Regions from separate parts of the Homo sapiens genome. Here regions 2 and 3 are each linked to region 1. Evidence: promoter capture Hi-C in human tissues and cell types (Jung and others, 2019). All regions are on one chromosome and are shown on one strand. Each heading gives the region's core, a stretch centred on a gene start or on the middle of the fragment in contact. The rest is flanking DNA. Distances are from core to core; before and after follow the strand shown.

Region 1 (2,711 bases), core at 209-2,708:
GTGTACCCAAAAAAGTTATAATTTTAAGAAATTTTTTGAAGCTTCAATCAAATAAAAATAAAGAACATCACAATCATGAATAAAATCTAAAACTCCACTTTGATGTCTGTAGCAGTGTGCAATCTGCATTCAAATGAATCAATCCGAAATGTCATATACACTTAATATTGTGAAACTAAAATAAATGAAATCTAATGAGGTCAAAAGCTGTTGGAAGATTTCATCTTCAAATAGCATATCATCAACTGTATGGCAACATGTGAACGACTTTTACTGTTCTAGCAAGTTGCATATATTCCACAACCTCACAGAAATCTTGTCATCAAAAGTAGGTAACAAGCTAAAAAAAACCTCAAATACATAATGGGAATAAACCGAGTTGGAGATTTTTTTTTAATCCGTAGGTACAGATACTACAACCTTCAATTAATTCACCAAAATCCTAACATAGTTGTTACTTTAATTACCAAAATATGTCAAGTCCCACCCCATATCCCTGAGTCCCCAGAGAACAGTTTATATACATAGACTCTAAATCTTTTTATTTTGGTCACGGACCCCCATTAAATTTTTGAGCATTTGAAATGCCCCCGAAAATCGCTCGTACATCATATTTTACATACACGGGCAGATAATTCATTAAGTTTCTTGGGGAGAGAGAAAGGTGAGGGGGAAGCGTCCATGGTCACTAAGTCCAGACCCCTGGTGTCGAGAAAGCGTTAACGTATCTCACAGCACAAGTCGGGAGACCTCGGCCAAGTCCCGCGGCGGCCCTGGGACCCCGCGTGGGACCATGGCTTGCGACCAGGTCGCCGCCCAGACGTGTACCGACGCGTGCACCCGCCGTCGGCCGCTCGCCCCACCTCGCCGGTAAACAGCAACTCCCCCGGCAGGAGGACGCCCGCCCCGCGCGCCGCCTCCGCCTCCCCCAGCGCCGCGCACCATTTTCTGAGAGGAAGTGTCGGGAGGCCGAGCTGGGCTCCCCGGACTCGGGGCGCGGAGGGCGGACCTCGGCACCGCGGCCGGACCGGGCTTTCCTCTGCTCCCGGGTGTGTCGAGTAAGGCTAGGAAGCAGCGGACGTGTCCGGGGCGCCGCGTGGGGAAAGGAGAGCCTGCGGCGGACGGCAACTCCGCGATTCCGGGATCCCCACCGAGACGCCCGGAAGCCCCGCCGTCGGGCTTGGCCGGGGCCGCTCCTCCGGCCGCCGGCGCCGCGCACTGCTCCCCAGCCCTTACGCGTCCCGCGGAGAGCCGGGTGGAAGCGGCGCCAAGGCAACCCGGTGCGGCCGCCGCGCCGCCTAGTACTTACCCATCCATGGCCCAGATGGAGGCGCGCACAGAGCAGGGACTGACGGGCTAACCGCGAGCAGAGGAAGCAGGCGGCGGCAGCAGGGCGGTTCCGGGGACAAGCGAGCTTTGGCTCTGCGGAGCCCCGGCCGGTCCGAGGTGGAAGGAGAGTGGGAACAGGGGCGGGGACCGGGCACGCTCCCGCCACCGCCGCGCCCCCGCCTTCCCCACCCCGCGAGCGCGTCCCCGCCTAGCCCGACCCCGCCCCCTCACCGTCCCCGCCCTCCCTCGGGGCCCGCCCCTGCGCTCGCGCCCACCCTCGCCCCGCTGGCAGCCGGCCTCCGGCTCAGCTCTGGGGCGCCCTCTTCCCGCGGTCGCTGTAAGACCCCGCCTCTCGGCCCCTCGGCCCGGCGCGCGCGCGCGCCCCCAGCCTCCCTCCTGCGTTCGCGGGAGCGCGCGCCTTGTGCTTCCCGCTCCGCCGCGCACCCCGCCCGCCCTCCCGCGGCCCCGCGGGCCTTCCGGCTTCGCAGACCGGGCCTGCCAGGTTTGAATGCCTCCCTCTGCCGGCAGGAAAAGCTATGGGGACCTGACTCCCAAGAGTAGGAAGGAATGTCCCACAAGGACCCCAGAAACGAGGTGGAATTGCCCCGGGTGCGCGAGGCTGTAGATGACACGTCCAGGGACCAGCCTCTGGCAGCCCGGCGCTGGAGTCGACCGCTGGGACCGACACCAGCCCCATAGGTGTGGCTGGGACGATGAATGAGGTGAAAGAGGCTGCCCGGACTGGAATTTGTATACAATTTAAGTATCTGAGTGCATTTCGACCTAACCGTCTAGTATTGAATTTATATGAAAAATTCATTGTACAAACATGGAATGGCTATATTCCCAGCATTTTTTAAAAGTTTACTCATTATTCCCTTTTTTCAGATGAAAATACATATACAAAGAGAGTGATTTGCTCACAGTTTCACAACCAGGAAACGTTTGCACCAGAGCCCTTCCCTCTGGTCTGAGCAAAAAGTATATATATAATATAACGAGTGACAACACGCTTGCTTTTTTCCCTTTTTAGTGAGAAATTGAGTACTTTTTCAACTCACAGATCACCAAAATGTAACCCCCTAAACTGTTAAGCCAAATTCTTAACCTACTGAGTAAAAAAGAGCGGGGCTCCTCCCCGTGGCTTCGTCATTTGAAAAGCAACTAACAAGAACCTCAAACATCTATCCTTGCTAATTTCCTGCTTTCAGATCAGTAGGTGCTGCTAAAAAGATCTAAACTGTGGACTCATTCATCATTCAGTCAGTATTAACCTACTATGTGCCGGGCACTGCATGAATACACAAGAAAATCAGGTTCCAGCCGTCACTGTTGAATGGATTCTTCAGTCCGTTTATGTATATTTTTGACATACAACTTTT
Region 2 (2,700 bases), core at 17-2,516, 260 kb before region 1:
TGATCATAGTTCACTGCAGCTTTGAACTCCTGGACTCAAGCAGTCCTCTCTCCTCAGCCTCCTAGAGCGCTGGAATTATAGGAATGTGCCACTGTGCCCAGCCTGAAACTAAATTTTAAGTGCAAAAAAGTAGGTCAGGTGCAGTGGCTCCCACCTATAATCCTGGCTTTTTGGGAGGCCTAGGCAAAAATGATTGCTTGGGCTCAGGAGTTTGAGACCAGCCTGGGCAACATAGTAAGACCTCATCTTTACAAAAAGAAAAAATTAGCAGGGTGTGGTGACATGCACCTGTAGTCTCAGCTACTTGGGAGGCTGAGGCAGGAGGACTGCTTGAGCCCAGGAGTTTGAGGCTGCAGTAAGCTATGATTGTGCCACAGCACTCCAGCCAGGGCAACATAATGAAACTCAGTCTCAAAAAAAATTGAAAAGAAAACAAAAGAGTAAATAGCCTTGGAGTAGGAATTTGTAATATTTATCAAAATATTAATATCACTAATGAAGGTAAACTATTAAATCAACCAAAGAAAAAGGGTAGTATAAGTACAAATGTGTTAAAATGTCTCTATGTAAAACCCATCAAAATGAACAAAAAGAACCAAAAATGGAAGAAAATTTTATCTGCATCAAAACTAAGCAACGTCTCCAACTTTGTACTGCAAACTTCAAGTAAACACAAACAATTGAATTAAAACACAACTCCACCGCCCAAAAACCCAGTACAATGCTACTTTTCTGGATTTTCTATAATAAAAAGTAGGTAGAAAAATAAACACAGCATGATGGTTCTTTTCTAATCCTCAGGCACCTCTCCAGATATATCATCCCATCCAAGGCATGGTAAATTAAAATTGAAGGCAACAGAAAAAATAGTGTCTTCCACTACAAGTCATCAGCTAGATATATCTTCTCCATCAATAAAGTTATGAGACTTCACCTCCCAAGGAGAAGAAACCAATTTCTTTTCACATGTACATCCTCAGTAGGCAGCACAGGTCTTTGTACATAACCAATCGAAAAATATTTGCTAGTGACTTCTCAAGACATCTCCTTTTATTATTTATTTATTTTTATTCTTTTTTATTTCTTTCTTTCTCTTTTTTTTTTTTTTTTGTTTTTTTTTTTGAGACGGAGTCTCACTCTGTTGTCTAGGCTGGACTGCAGTGGCACAATCTCAGCTCACTGCAACTCTGCCTCCCGGGTTCAGGAGATTCTCCTGCCTCAGCCTCCCAGGTAGGTGGGATTACAAGCACCCACACCACACCCAGCTAATTTTTGTATTTTTAGTAGAGACTGGGTTTCACCATGTTGGCCAGGCTGGTCTCGAACTCACCCACCTCAGCTTCCAAAAGTGCTGGGATGGGATTACAGGCATGAGCCACCGTGCCTGGCCAACCCATCTCATTTTTAACAAATACAAGTAAATAAATAAATATTTGCTAAATTAAATTGTTACAGCTCAGCAAGCCCCTCCCCCTCTCCCAACACACACAGAAACCCTAGTTTCCAGGCTTCTGATCTAAGAATACCTTCTCATGCACGTTTTATAAAAGCTAACTTTGGCTGAGATTCAGATGCTGGTAGCAAGAGGGTCTGGGAGACACCCATCCCCACACAGCCATTTACTTGGGGGCTTGGGGTTTGTTTTGAAGCTAGAAAGCAGTTGGGAGATTTCTGGGAATGAGAGAAATACGTGGACTGTGGAAGCATGGAAGGGCAAACATGCCTCTCCTAGCGTGACCTAATGTTAGGGCTCCAGATATCAAAAGAGCCTGTGTCCACGGAAGACTTGGAAAGGAAAACAGCTGGCATGAAGGCCAGTCCCTCTGCTGACCTGTGGTACAGCTTCAGCCCCCTTGGAGCCAGGGGGGCCCCCAGGGATAAGTGTGGTACCTTGGAACCAGCCAGGGGAGATGGGTTTCTCACTGAGGACACAGGGGTACAGCATCCTTGGATGGTTTGTGGGTAACCAACCATGAAAGAGAAGCCTCGGTAAAAGAAACCAAGAGACCTAGTCCTGCACAGTCTTCCCTGAGGACATCCCATTGTGGAGGGCGGTGTCAGAGGCAGGGGCAGGGAGGATCAGGGCAGTCCTGGCTGGACCTCTCTGATAAAGTGACAATCTGATAAATGCCTGGGACACTCCTGTGTTTTCTGTTGTTTTCCTAACCGTCTGAAAAAGTACTTTCCTTTTTCTTGTTATGAATACAATGAGAGATGGGAAATTTCTTGAAGAAGTTGCCAGCCTTGGTACTGAAGACATGGGAATAAATAATTTCCTTTTCATCTTTTCTTCCCTTTGCTCCTCCAGCATGCTTGGTTCCATAATAAACATTCCATCTCAAATGATCACCATGTTGTGTAAGACAAGTGGTCTGGTTTATCTCCACATTTACGTATGTATTGGCTTTCTCACGCTCACTCTCTCTCTCTCTCTTTCTCTCTCTTCCCCACCCCGCCCCCACCCACCCCCATCCTCCTCTCTCTGGTTTCCTCTTTCTCTCTCTATATAAGAAAATGTTGCCTACAAAGCTTTTAGACTTAGCAAGAAAATAGCATACTCAGCTGGACAGTGGCTCATGCCTGTAATCCCAGCACTTTGAGAGGCTAAGGGCAGGCAGATCACTTGAGGTCAGGAGTTTGAGACCAGCCTGGACAACATGGCAAAACCTCATCTCTACTAAAAATATATTTTTAAAATTA
Region 3 (2,835 bases), core at 272-2,771, 290 kb before region 1:
CTATTTGGGGACCATCACATGCCAACTCCAGGGAGATCCCCGATTATAAACTAAAAAACACTCACAGTTGAGTTGCACATGTGGGCCAAGTGACTGACTTAGAGAATCATGTTCTAGATTAGAGCAAAAATTTCATTTTAATTTGCAAACACTTACTTAGCACTTACTATGTGCCAGACACTGTTCCAAGCACCTCACAAATATTCACTCATTTAGGCTTCTAACCAGCCTTCACATTGGGTACTATTATTATTCCCTTAAGGAACCAAGGTGGGAGTGGCTAAGTACAACTCAGGTCTTTACAGCCAGGTTAAGAGGAGTGCATTTCTATTGGAAACTCAGTACAGTACCTGGCACTAGTAAAACCAGCCATAGAATACACCTTGTGTTAAACAGCCCTGCAGAACTTGAAACCGCCTTTTTAAAAATTATAACCGAGAAAATTATAACCGTGAAAAAGATCTGACCTGACTGACTCCATCTTGCTTCTAACCTCCAAGTTGCCCCTGTTCATTCCTGGGCGTAGGCTGAACTAACTTTGGGAGGAACTCAGTTTATAGTTTAACTTTGAAACAAAGACGATAATAGCCCTTTCCCCAAACAAATCCCCATCCTGTCTGGGGACTAGACTGCCTTTGCAAGACTAACAAATTAGCCATGAGATTAGAAATTATGGTTTAGGGGTCCTACAGCTGGAAGCTGCAAGATTCTGAACTGCTCAAATTGCTCCTAGGGCTAACATCACTATTGTAAAACCTAAGATCAGTGCTTGAGATATTTTCCAGACCCTGCACTCCATGGATCGGCTGGCATCACCCAGATCCATAAACTGGTTCATCTGATCTTGTGGCCCCCAACCAGAAATTGACTCAGTGCAAGAGGACAGCTTCGACTCTGTGATTTCATCTCCAACCCAACCAATCAGCACTTCTGACTCACTGACCCCCCCATCCCCTACCCCCTACCCACTAAGTAATCCTTAAAAACCCCATCCCTGAATTTTCAGGGAGACTGATTTGAGTAATAATAAAACTCCAGTCTCCCATACAGTTGGCTCTGTGTGAATTAAGCTCTTTATTGCAATTCCTCTGTCTTGATAAATCAGCTCTGTCTAGGCAGCAGGCAAGGAAAACTCATTGGGCGGTTACTAATTCTCAAAAAATGCTGCCAAGAGCCTTTCTAGAAAACATGGCTTATATTATTTGGTTGCTTTTAGTCTATAGAAGAAAAATGGCCTTGACACTTTAAGAAGCTAGATTACTTATTTTGTTTTATTTTATTTTTATTTATTATTATTTTTTGAGACAGAGTCTTGCTCTGTCACCCAGGCTGGAGTGCAGTGGCATGATCTCGGCTCACTGCAACCTCCACCTCCCGGATTCAAGCGATTCTCCTGCCCCAGTCTCCCTAGTAGCTGGGACTACAGGTGTACTCCACCACGCCCGGCTAGTTTTTGTATTTTAGTAGAGACAGGGCTTCACCATGTTGGCCAGGCTGGTCTCGAACTCTTGACCTCAGGCGATCTGCCCATCTTGGCCTCCCAAAGTGCTAGAATTATAGGCATGAGCCACCATGCCCAGCCAAGAAACTAGATTATAAAATGGAAGGAGAAACAGTGATTAAGTGAAGAATTAGTAAAGAAAAAATATTAGGAGAGTGACTTGAATTGCAAGACAGTAAAACAGTGCAGTATTAGAATAGGAATGAATACATTGGAACAAAATAGCCTAGAAACAAATCCAAGCATATCAAATACTTTCAAAGTTTGAATACTGGAGTCAGATGTCCAAGTCTTTATCTGAACACCACCACTGCCTGTGTGACTTTGTGCAAGTTATTCATCCATTCTGTGTCTCAGTCCCCACACTGAGGGATGCTGTAATAACATGGGAATGATAGCAATACTACCCACCTCTAGGTAGTGGGAGAAGTCAGTGAGTTAGTACAGGTTGAAACAGTGCCTGGCACAGAATAAGCAATAAGCAAATGTTAGCTATTGTTAATTATTATTGTTTTTGTTGTTTTGATACTGTTTCAGATCATTGGGGAAATGATAAATTTTTCATAACCAGTGCTGAGAAAATTGGCTAACCATTTAGAATCAAATAATTTTGATCACTAGAGCTTACACCATATATCAAAATAAAATCCAGATGGATTACAGACTTAAATTGAAACCTAAAAGGATTAGGAAATGTTAGTGAATATTTACCTAATATTAAAGGGGGTAAGAAATTTCTAAGCATATTCGTTAACACAGAAACCTTAAGAGAATGAGAGATTTAACCACTTTAAAAAGCATGCACTTCTTATACCAAAAACTACCATAAGCAAGATTAAAAGGCAAATGGCAAGCTGGATAAAATATCTAGAATAATGGGCAAGAAGTTAACATACAGAGAGTGTTACAGATTAATAAAGACATACCTCAATAGCGAAATGAGAAAATTCTACGAAAAGGTAAATCACATGAAAAACATGATTACAGATGATCAATAAAACTTTGAGCAAATGCTCTCTTACAAGTAATAAAAATGCAAATTAAGGCATTAAGATGCCATCTTTGTGCATGACTCAGAAACATTTTTTTAAATGCCATCTTGGTGGACTAATTAACTAGATTTGTTTTGTTTTGTTTTGTTTTTAAGAGAAAATACAATTCTGGAGATGAACGGGGGAGCTGGTACTTTACTGCACTGGCATTTCATCCGATCTACCCAGTATTCCTTCCAACTTCTGACATCAAGTTTTTTTCTGTGTATTTTTTCCTCTACACTTTAACCCTCTGTATATTTTAATCACTGATTGATGAATATGTTGAACTGAAGATGACTG

Evidence for each region. Contacts are between HindIII fragments. The study calls those that stand out against the background at their distance.
Region 2: a contact is called between a fragment that was not itself captured here and the fragment with the promoter of PTBP3 in region 1, in 1 of the 25 tissues and cell types used here (dorsolateral prefrontal cortex).
Region 3: a contact is called between a fragment that was not itself captured here and the fragment with the promoter of PTBP3 in region 1, in 1 of the 25 tissues and cell types used here (stomach).

The regions. Positions count from the first base shown.
Region 1 is chr9:112,332,161-112,334,871 of GRCh38, forward strand. PTBP3 (polypyrimidine tract binding protein 3) reads right to left here and starts at 1,459. Exons shown (of 14, transcript NM_001163788.4): 1 at 1,310-1,459. RefSeq lists silencers at 824-1,313, 1,464-1,783 and an enhancer at 1,533-2,503. The HindIII fragment of the contact is 19,118 bases long and covers 1-2,711 here.
Region 2 is chr9:112,071,047-112,073,746 of GRCh38, forward strand. All of the region lies in intron 12 of SUSD1 (sushi domain containing 1), which reads right to left. Among named protein-coding and RNA genes, the nearest start is that of LINC02977, 32 kb to the left of the region's middle. RefSeq lists an enhancer at 2,670-2,700. The HindIII fragment of the contact is 3,705 bases long and covers 1-2,700 here.
Region 3 is chr9:112,042,518-112,045,352 of GRCh38, forward strand. All of the region lies in intron 15 of SUSD1 (sushi domain containing 1), which reads right to left. Among named protein-coding and RNA genes, the nearest start is that of LINC02977, 3.5 kb to the left of the region's middle. RefSeq lists an enhancer at 45-114. The HindIII fragment of the contact is 6,855 bases long and covers 1-2,835 here.